2 separate regions of the Homo sapiens genome follow, and region 2 is linked to region 1. The links are contacts of gene promoters, found by promoter capture Hi-C in human tissues and cell types (Jung and others, 2019). All regions are on one chromosome and are shown on one strand. Each heading gives the region's core, a stretch centred on a gene start or on the middle of the fragment in contact. The rest is flanking DNA. Distances are from core to core; before and after follow the strand shown. Region 1 holds the start of CORIN (corin, serine peptidase). Region 2 overlaps CORIN (corin, serine peptidase).

What was found. Contacts are between HindIII fragments. The study calls those that stand out against the background at their distance.
Region 2: a fragment that was not itself captured here is called in contact with the fragment with the promoter of CORIN in region 1 in 3 of the 25 tissues and cell types used here (H1 embryonic stem cells, mesendoderm cells and pancreas).

Annotation. Positions count from the first base shown.
Region 1 is chr4:47,835,072-47,840,916 of GRCh38, reverse strand. CORIN (corin, serine peptidase) reads left to right here and starts at 2,850. Exons shown (of 22, transcript NM_006587.4): 1 at 2,850-3,030. The coding sequence starts at 2,968. All of the region lies in intron 1 of LOC101927179 (a long non-coding RNA gene), which reads right to left. The HindIII fragment of the contact is 9,769 bases long and covers 1-5,785 here.
Region 2 is chr4:47,736,350-47,741,707 of GRCh38, reverse strand. The region is part of intron 5 of CORIN (corin, serine peptidase); the gene reads left to right. Among named protein-coding and RNA genes, the nearest start is that of MIR8053, 86 kb to the right of the region's middle. The HindIII fragment of the contact is 8,496 bases long and covers 1-5,358 here.

The DNA.
Region 1 (5,845 bases), core at 1,601-4,100:
AGGGTCATATATTACCTCCTTCCCAATGACTACTGTGGTATATTAGAGTAGGGGATTGATGTCCCAGAAATATTATGTACATCAAACAGAAGATCTACACAAATTGTTTTATCAGATACTGAATATATCAATGGGCTAGAGTGTATTATAGTACATATGGGTATGTTGTTTTCCCCCTTTTGACTAAATAAACTCTCCCCTCTCTGCAACAGGTAAATTTCCAGTTTACCTTTTTCTTGCTGTTTTTAATTTTTTTTATTTTGAAGGCTTTGTATCTTTATATCTCAGCTGAAAATATTACATTCTAACTCCCCAAAGCTATTCTCACATTATTTGCAAGTATTTTTTCATAGTTTACATGTTTGTGTATTTGTTTAATACATTCCACAAGACTGAAAGTCTTGGTGAGGGCAGGAACTCTGTCTAGGTTGTTCATCTGGCAGCCAGCAAACCCAAAATAAGTATTAGTTGAATGAATAGCTAAATAGATGAGCCATGGGGTAGCATATCTGTTTTAGCTACTGCTTGCCTGTTATCATCCTGGGATGCTGCTTGCTTCTCCGTGATCTCTTCTTGTTCTTAAATTGTCTTCAGTTGTAGTACTAAGTACTAATTTGATCTGTAATGTGATATGTGGCTGAAGTTTGCTCTGTAAAATCACCGTTTCCTGAGGTATATTCAATATCTTTAATTTTTCCATAAATCTCTTCAAGGTTTGTGTGTGTTTTCTTTTAAATTATCTAACTAGTTGGATGTATGCTTGAAGTGCTAGACAATAAAAGTTTCAATAGGCTAGAAATGTTTCTTTTTGTAAAATTATTTTAAGAAACTAGATGATGGTTGTCACTTGAAGCTGAAATGCAAATGTAGCTAGTTTTTTTTAAAGAATAATTCAAATAGGTCATTAAAGATTACTATGAGCACACTGCATATTCAAATCAGTTTGAATATGTTTTGAGACTTCTAATAGTTTATGATTCTTGACATTTTAATGAGCACACTGCATATTCAAATCAGTTTGAATATGTTTTGAGACTTCTAATAGTTTATGATTCTTGACATTTTAAAAGTTTATTATAAAGAATATAAAACATCTTTACCCTCATTTTTTATGTCATTACCTTCATGCAAAGAATACCTCAGGTATTAATTCTGGTGCTGTTGGTAACTAGAACTGGTTGGGTTTTCTTGCTAAAAGGAAGTTTAAAAAATGTTTATTTTACACCATTAATGCAATTAGCTTTAGTTCTCAGAGGAACTAAAAGTGGAAAAGTGAGGGAGACTGATCGACCCTATCTCAAATCCACTGACGTAGCTACTTTAATTTCATAGTCCCTGTAGCACCTCCACCAGAGGGCAGAAAGTGGAAGAGAAAGAAGATGAAATAGAAACTTGTACTTGGCCTCAGAATGCCTGTAGAAACCTTAGCAATTGAATCCAGCCCTTATGTTATAGGCTGAGTTAACTGTGGCCCAGAAAGACTATGTGATTTGCTCACAGTTCTTGATTCCCAGACTGGCACTGCGGTGATGGTGTGTGATGAGGTAGTATCTTAGTAAGAACACAATCCAGAAGTCACTGCCTCGGGGGAATCCCAGCTCAGCTTCTTGCTAGCTTGCGTAGGCTGGTTACTTCACTTCAGCTCCCTGAATCTGCTTTCTTATCTCTAAAATAAAAATAATAGCTTCTTCCTCAGAGTAGTTGGTGGAACTGAAAGAATACATGTAAAGTGCTTAGTATGACACCTGCCACATAATATGAACTGAATTATTGTGAATTATGATAAATTTGTCAGATACTGGTTTACAAATCGGATGTTAGAATAACATGGAATCAGTGTTTCAGTCATTTTACTATACATATGCAATATTTTCTACATTTGATCTCACTTCAGAAACAAAATACTGCCCCCCCCATTTTACAAATGCATATTTTTTTCTCAGCAATAATGTTCAAGAACAAGTGCTTGGCCCATATTTTGTTGTCTTTACATGGCTTTCTTTAAATAATGGGGATGGATTTATTAAATAACCTCATGAGTAATTTTCAAAATTTCCATTAAGATCTTGATTGAAATTGGATGAAAAATCATTTCTAAGAAAAACCCAATGAAGTGTTTTTCTTTGCCACATTTGACAATTGCCTTGGACTTGGTAAAGTAATCATTACTGTGTTGAGTACCTCCAGTGCCCTCCTTGACGCTGCCTTAGAAAAGGTAGCTGCTTTTGAATGACAGGCAGGAATTTGTTCGCCTTTTAGGTTCAGCCTGTAGGTGCCCTCTGCAGGAAATCAGGAACTAGGGTTTTGGAAGCAGTCAGGGTGGGGTTCTCCCTTGTCCCTGCAGCCTCAGCAAAGACTCAGGCAGTCTGGCAAAAGCAGTTTCTTCAGCATACCTAACAGAACGCAAGTTTCCATATGCCTGATGCAAATAATGGCCTCCAAACGTTAAACCTTTTTTGAGATAAACTTGTTCTTTAATTGCCAGCGCCTGCAGTTAATTTTGATTGGCTACACTCTGGTTAAAAGAAAATGCTTTCGATGTGATATGGCAAATTTGGAGAAAAGTAACTCTTTTGCTCCCAACCAGTCTTCCACAACTTAAACTTAATCGTCCTGTCCTTTTCTGCTGCCCTCGTGGAGTGTAAGTTTTTGAGGGAGACCAGCAGAAACTGACTTTCCATATGCCCCTGAAGAATAACTTCTTTGAATGCAAAGAGGTGGGGACACGGAGGATCTGTCATTACGGGTTATTATGGGTGGGACCCAGAGACGGGAGTGAAGGGAGGGTGTGGCCCGCGGGTGGGATCTGTAGAGCAGACAAAATATGGGGCCCCTGGCGCTTAAAGTTCAGTTTGTCTCTCTTGAGCTTGGAGAAAATCATCCGTAGTGCCTCCCCGGGGGACACGTAGAGGAGAGAAAAGCGACCAAGATAAAAGTGGACAGAAGAATAAGCGAGACTTTTTATCCATGAAACAGTCTCCTGCCCTCGCTCCGGAAGAGCGCTGCCGCAGAGCCGGGTCCCCAAAGCCGGTAAGATCGATGATTCGCTGTCCTACCGCAGCCAGGTGTGATGGCCTCTTAGTCCCGGTGAATTCAGGGTCAGCCCCTCCCGCCCCCGTCCTCTCCTCCGCCCGATGCCACCTCCTTCCCCAGCCGCCGGTGAGCTCCCGCTCTGACAGTTCCGCGCTCAGCGCCCTGCACCCAGTTCCCAGGCGCACGGCCCTGGTCCCGACCACCACCCCGGTCGCCCGGCGTCCGAGACCCTCCCAGGGTCATGGGCAGGGTTTCCTTCAGTGTTCGAGTCGGCTCGATCCGGAGACCCCGGTCTCCATGCCGGGGGTGATGCCACCTTTCCTGCAGAGTCCCTCCTCCGCACGGTGCCCTCCAAGCATCTAGTGGACTTGGCTGCACACTGGCGGCAGGGGAGGCTGCAGGTGGAGCTGTCGGAGCCAGCCCCTCGGGGATCTACAGCTTCCTGTCTGCGCCGGCGTCTCGGGCGCCGGGTGGCTGGAGGGACTGTGCAGCAGTCTTGCCTGCCCCAGACGTAAGCCCCCTTCCCCAGCTGCGAGCGCCTGGGTGTCGGTCCCTCCACAGCCCGGGCTCGCGCTTGGTTCCCCGGCCCCCAGTTGGTGCCTGGGGATCACTCGCCCGTCCTAAGTGCTGGCATCCCAGAACTGGCCCTCTTGCAGAGTGCTGGGAACTTGTAGGTCCCTGCGTGCAAACTTTCTCCGGCGTGAACCTGCCTAGGCACAGGAGGGCTGGCCGCCGGGGGCGCAGGCTCTGCGCTGTAGGATTTGGTTGGCTCAGATCCAGTCCTGGGAAGGGGCAGCGTTGGCTCTCGTTCAGGAGGAGAAAGAAAGGGAAGGGCACCACGGACAGTCCCTACTGGCCTGAGCCCCCAGGAAGAAGGTCTAATTTGCGGCTGCCCCTCTCCTTCGGTGTCATTAGGGCCCCGGAATCCGCTTGCTACCGCGAGGGTCCCAGCTGCTCCGAATCGGGGACCGACCGGTGACGCTAGCTGCAGGCAGAGAGGGCAGGCTGTGCGGGCGGAAGGGAGGTGGTGTCTTGTCGGATCTTACTGGGACCCAGTTCCTGAGCTCCCGTGGCAGGCGCCTCACTCCTGCTACTACCTGCTCGGGGCCAGTGGATGGCAGTGTACGCGCTTTTTGCACGGCTCCCGGTTCCTGGGACCGAGCCCTGGGAGCTCTGACTTTGAATTCAGCAGGGAAGCTTCGGGGCTGGGCATTCCCAGGGAAGCTGTTCGAGTAATTCATAAAGTGGAGCTTTCCTCCCGCGGGAAACTTCTGAGAACGATGCGCTGCGAAGACGGACTCCTGTACAAGACTTCGATGACTGACATAGGCACAATTGTGGCTTCTAGTTTTTATTTTAACTTTTTATTTAAAGTAACTTATCGATGGAAGCGAAACTCTGCAAAGGAACGTCAGACCGCTACCAGAAAGGGGGTGAAGTCAGGACTTACTGGTGATTATTGTCCAAGGACACATTTAAGCAGATAGTTTTGAAATTAATTTTGGCATAACCCTGAGACAATGAGAAGAAACAATGCATTTATAAAAAGTTATTAAACCATTTTTTTTTGTCACAGTCAAAACATTCATTAGCTTGTTTCTATTATTAGGTGCCCAATAGGTTTGTTGTGTGAGATTGTGCTAAAAATTGGTCCTCAGATCCTGGGACTTGAGAGGTTAGAGGAGGTTCCTGGGGCTTGCGAGGTTAGAGGAGATGTCTGCATAGACTCACGTGTGGGCTTGGCTGACCAGGCAGGTTTTCCATAGAATGCTTTCCAGGACACCAAGAATTTCAATAGGATGAACTATTTTGGGGTTATTTGGGTGTGGAAACACATCAACCTCAAAACCCCAAGATTCTATAAGGCATTTTTTAAGGGGGAGGGGACTCTTTCCAGAAAGTTCCTTTCAGGGTAGGCTTACAGGACCAACGATGAAAGCCTCTGTTAACCTTCCTGTGGGTTAAAAAGACACACCAAGAATTGCTCTATTAACCTTATCAAGCACATATCCAGGTACAGAGACACTTTCTTAAAAGATGCAAAATTCATTCCATCAGAAACCTTCCTCATAATGCTGCAGAAATCACAATAGCAACAGCATAGAAGGCAGGCATCAGTGCTTCCGCATCTTGCATTCCACAACCAGCTGTGGTTTCCTTTTGGAAGGGTCACATTCTCCACCATAGCTTCATGTGGATTTCAGCAGTTGCTAGTTCTATTGACTGGCCAGCCCCTCTGTTGACCTCCCCCACTGTTGGGGGCAGACAGGAAGTTAGAGGAGAAGCTGAGTGGCCCAGGAGCTTCAGAGAGTCACTTTCAAAAGCCTGTACTTTCAAATCTCCATACTGTTAATGAGGTACTCCTTTCCTTATTTTTCCTCTTTTCCGCACTTGTAGCCTCTTTCAACACAAAGACTTGTGGTCTTAGGGTTTCTGAGTGTCCCCACTGCTGGGGTAATAAGAGCTCTCTGAGGAGCAGGAGAGCCGCAACACTGAATTGTTGCTGAGCGTATCTGAGGGGGAAAGGTTTGTTTGACCTGCTACTTCTACCTAATAAGTTATTCAACAAGTATGGATTCATGCATCCTGTTAGCCCCATCACTATTCTTGGCATTCCATTTTGCTGGACCAAATGGAAAATGAGGCTGGCTGGCTAAAGGGTACTGACCTGATACTGGCTGGCTAAACATACTAGGTTCACACTAAACACTCAAGGGATTCCAAGACTTACCTGTTCCTCAGAGTCTACACACTCACATAAAGACACACACAGACATAATACACTTGTTTGTTTTATGTCTGTTCAGAGAGG
Region 2 (5,358 bases), core at 2,265-4,764, 100 kb after region 1:
CCATTGTAGGAATATACCACATTAAAAATCCATACATTAATTGAGGAATATTTGGACTGTTTTCACTTTTGGACTGTTATGAATAATGCTGTCTGTATAATATTTGCGTATAAGATTTTGTGTTTTTGTGTGGACATACTGTTTTAATTCTCTCAGCTATATACCTAGGAGTAGAATTGCTGTGACTAGTATTAACTCTATGTTTAACATTTTGAGGAAATGCCATTCCTACAAACAATGTATGAGGGCTCCAGTGTTTCCACATTTTCACCACACTTGTCTCTTTTGTTTATAGCTGTCCTAGTTGATGTGAAGTGGTATCCCATTGTGGTTTTGATTTGCAGTTTGCTAATGACTAATTATGTTGAGCAACATGTCATGTGCTTGTTAGTGTTAGCCATTTGTATGCCTTATATTGAGAAATATCTATTCAAATACTTTGCCCATTTTAAAATTAGGTTGCCTCTTTAAATTGTTGAATTGTCAGGTTCTTTATATATTCTGGATGCAAGTGTGCCTTTTAAGCTATATAATCTTCAAATATCTTCCTACATTCTTCGGGGGCTGTTTTCATTTTAACAACAGTTTTTAACTTTGAGGAAGTCCAGTTTATCTGTCTTTTCTTTTGTTGTGTATGCTTCTAGTGTATGTATTTTAAAAATTGGCTAATACAAGGTGACTAATTATTTATTCCTTTGTTTTCTTTTAAGATTTTAATAGATTTAGCTCTTATATTTAAGTCATTGATCCATTTTAAATTAACTTTTCTGTATGTTGTGAAGTAGGAGTCCAACTTCTTTCATTTGCGTATGGAAATTCAGTTGTCCTAGTATGTATTGTTGAAGAGCTATTCTTTCCCACTGAATGGACTTGGAGCCCCTTGTTAAAAAACAATTGGCCATAGATGTATGGGTTTATTTCTGGACTTTCAATTATTTTTTATTGATCTATCTATCTTTCTTGATTACCACAGTTTGCAATACATTTTGAAATTATGAAGTGTGCATACTTTAACTTTTTAAGGATTACTTTAGCTATCCTGGGTCCCTTGCCTTTCTGTATAAATTTTAGGATTAACTTGTCAATTTCTGAAAAAAATTCAGCTATAATTTTGATAAAGATTACATATGTAAATATACCATTCAATCTTTGCTAAAAGAGCTGGAATGGCTATACTAATATTTGATCAAATAGATTTTAAAACAAAATTGTTATCAGAAAAGAGGAGGGATTTTTTAATGATAAAGGGTCAATTCGTCAGGAAAACATAACACAGAGCCAGAAATACTTAAATCTGACAGAACTGAAGGAAAAATAGACAATTCAACCATAATATTCCACTGTCAATAATGAGTAGAACTAGGTAGAAGATTAAAAGGGAAATACAAGACTTACAAAGCACGATAAACCAATGAGATCTAATAGACATCTGTAGTACACTCCACCCAGCAATAGAAAATATGTGTAAACACATAGGCACCTAAAAATTTCCATTTTTGAGCTTACAACCTATTTGTGTTTCTGAATATAAAGTATGCCTTTTACACACAGTATATAATTGAATCTCATATTTTTATCTATGAGACAAATCTCTGCCTTTTGATTGTAGTGTTTAATTCATTTACACTTAATGTAATTATAAGTATTTGCATATGCTGTTTTGAAATTTGTTTTCTCTATGACTTTTGTATTTCTTGATCCTTCATTACTGACTTTTTTTGTGTTAGATATATTGGGGTGTGCCATTTTAAATTTCTTGTTGCTTGGCTATTTTTTTTAGTTATTCTTATTGGTTGTGCTGGAACTTAAAATTAACGTCTTAAGTTATAACAGTCTAGTTCAGATGAATCCTAACCGAATTTCAACAATATCTACACTTTGCTTCTGTATAGCTTTGTTTCTTTTTCCTTCTTTGTACCATTATGTATACAAATTACATCTTTATATAATATAATCTCAACATAGGTTTATTGATTATGATTATAAATTATTTATGCAGTTGTTTTTAAGAATCAGATAGGATAATAAAAGATTTATAGAAAAAATACATTTCTTTTATCTTACTTTTACCTATTTAATTACCTCTACCAATACCTTTTATTTCTTCATATGGATTCAAGTTGCTGTATACTGTCCTTTTATTTTATCCCAAAGGACTTCCTTTAGTACTTCTTACAGGGTGGTTCTGTTAATAGCAAATTCTCTCCACTTTTGTTTATCTGGGAATATCATAATTTGTCTTTCATTTTGAAAGGATATTTTGCTGTACATAGAATTTCTGTTTGACAGTCTTTTATTTTCAGCACTTTGAATATGTTATCCCACTTCCTTTTGGACTCCTCAGTTTGGATGAGAAGTCAGATGTTAACCTTTCTGAAGCTCCATTTTATCTGATGAGTTGCTTATCTCCCAGTGTTTTCAAAATTTTCTGTGTCTGATTTTTGATAGATTAATTACAATGTGTCTAAGTGTAGATCCTTTAGAGTTTATTTGAATTTTTGTACTTCTTTGTTATGCAGATGTATGTTTTTCTCCAAATTTGAGAAGTTTTCAGCTATTATATCTTCAAACATTCTTTCTGACTCATTCTTTTATCTCTTTCTGGGACTCCCATTATGAGTATGTTGGTACATCCTCCAAGTCATTAAGGACCTTTTAATTTTTCTTCTTTTTTTTCTTTCTGTTCCTTAGACTAGATAATCTCAGCTTACTTATCTTAAAGTTTGCGGATTTTCTCTTCTGCCTGATCAAGTCTGCTGTTAAGTCTTTCTAGTAAATTTTTAATTTCAGTTATTATATATTTTACTGCATAATTTCTAATATTTTAAAATAATCTATATATCTTTATTAATATTTTGTATTTTTTGAGCCATTGCTCTTATACTTCCCTTTAGTTCTCTAGAAATGTGTTCCTTAGTTCTTTGAATGAGTTAAAATAACTGATTTAAAAGTCTGTCCAGTAAATTCAATGTCTGAGCTTCCTCAGGAACAGTTTTTGTTGACTGTTTTTTCCCCCTCTATATGGGCATATGTTCCAGTCTCTTTGGACATCTTGTAATTTTTTGTTGAAAGTTGGACATTTAAAATAATATAATGTTCAACTCTGCAAGTTGAATTCTTCCCCCCAACATTAGTTGCTGTTTCTGTTTCTTGTTGCTTTAATTATTGTTATTTATTTGTTCAGTGAGTTCCCTGAAACAAATTATGTTAAGTTTGTTCTTTGTCATGTCTGGCCACTGAAGTTTTTGCCCAGATAGCAGCCTAGTGGTCAACTAATGGTTGGACAGAATTTCCTTAAATGCCTTTAACAGGTATATATCCTAGTCTTTGCCAAGGGATTCTGTGCATGTTAGGGTGCATAGTCAGTACTGTAGCAGAGTCGACACTATAGCAGAGTCAATGCTATAGCAGTCAATACTATAGCAGAGTTTACAGCTCTGCCTTATCCTTAAATTTCTGCTTGTACAGGGTCTCAATGTCTGCCACAGGTGAGATATTTGGGCCTTTCTGGGTCCTTCTTAGGTATATGCATAGTCCTGCACATTCATGGGATCTTCTAGATTCTCAGCAATGTATTAGAGCTTTTCAAATTTTCCTACAGGAATTCCCCACATTTTTCTTTTAATTTTTCTGGTTAGCTTCTTGTTTGCCCCAAGTGATATCCCCACCTCAGACAGTTACAGTGTTAATCGATTATTAATTTTTTTTTTTAGAAACACCCCGGGGAAAAGGCTTTTGCACTGAGTAAGCTCTTATTCAGGTCAAATAATCACATTTGCTCTGAGTTTCCAGGGAGCTAACAGACAAGAAAAATAATGACAATTCTTTGGTAATGGGGCATTGTGGAGAGCTCCAAGCATGTTTTGCCCCTTCTAGTGGCTGCTTGGCTGCTAGTTTTCACAGCTGATGTAGTTGTGAGGTTATCTAGATCAATAACCATATCTTATCACCTGCTTTCTTAGACCATGTCTGACACTAGGTGCTAAAAGTTGAGTTTTCTGCAAATAGTAACTGAGATGGAGTTTGGTGTACAGAGTATTTATTAAGCTTCAGCCTTTGTGTTAAGGGAGGGAGAGAAAGCAGAATTGGGCAGAAGGAGTTGAAATATGATCCAGGCCCACCAAAGCCTCAGCTAAATCCTTGGGGAGTTCTGGAATGTATTAAGCCTACAAGAGTTATCTCATGTTGATCCAAAATAGTTGAGTCTATGTGTCTCCACCTCAATCAGTCATTGGATGTGGTCCTTCCTGGGAAGAGTGTGCCACTGAGTGAGGCAGATCTCTTCAGTGTTCCACAGCTGAGGCAAAACCCGAAGGATCTGACAGCTAAAGGCAGTGGGCCAGCAAATGTAGCAATAGATTCTTGAAGGGTAGACATATATGGCCAGATCGTATATGTGATATGGGCCAGACACATATATGATCACACGTATGTGCCACATATATGATCACTAGGCACATATGGGGCCAGATAGCCTTAATTTAATCAGAGACTAAGCTGATTTTGCCTCATTGTTATAAGGCTCCGTCTACCTCTGGTTTTTCTCCATTCTGAGAGTGTGGTTCTCCAGTAGTCTCAACTGAGAAACTGGTAGGCTTACTATATTCCCTTCCTCCTTGAGTAGTTCCAAATTTTATTTTATTTTCTGCTCAGAGCAGTATAATTTCTGTAATTTCCATTCTACTTTTCTGAAGTTTTCTGCTTAGTTCTTTAGGCTCCTGCCCTCTGTGGCAAATGCCTTGCAAGGCAACCCTCCCAAGTGATAGATCTGCTTCTCTATGTCTCCCCTTTCACTGCTCACCTGGCCCCTTAGTATCTGGCTGCTTCAGCAACACCAAACTCTAATTTTTGTCTCTTCGCCTTTGTGGAATTGCCAAAAGTTCTGCTGGCTTATCTTGTCTTTGCAGTGGTCACATGTGTAGCACCATGCCAAGAACTGGCAAGTTCCATGAAGGACAAGGCATACACAGATTGTAGACTCTTAGGGCATGTTCTCACTTAGCTAAATGATAAGAATACATAGACACATAGAGGGGAACGACTGATACTGGGGTCTACCAGAAGGTGGAGGGTAGGAGGAGAAAAAGGATCAGGAAAAATAATTAATGGGTACTAGGCTTAATAAGTGAGTGATCTGTACAACAAACCCCCATGACACAAGTTTACCTATATAACAAACTTGCATATGTACTTTTGAACTTAAAATAAAACTTTAAAAAAGAATGTAGACTCTTTGTTCTATAGTTATCTTCTCTCTGGGACCTTGGCCACTCACATCTTAATTATCTCATCAGCTCTCAGATGCCTTCCAACAGATGTTTCTTGTGTTTTATCTGGCTTTTCTAGTTGTACTTGACA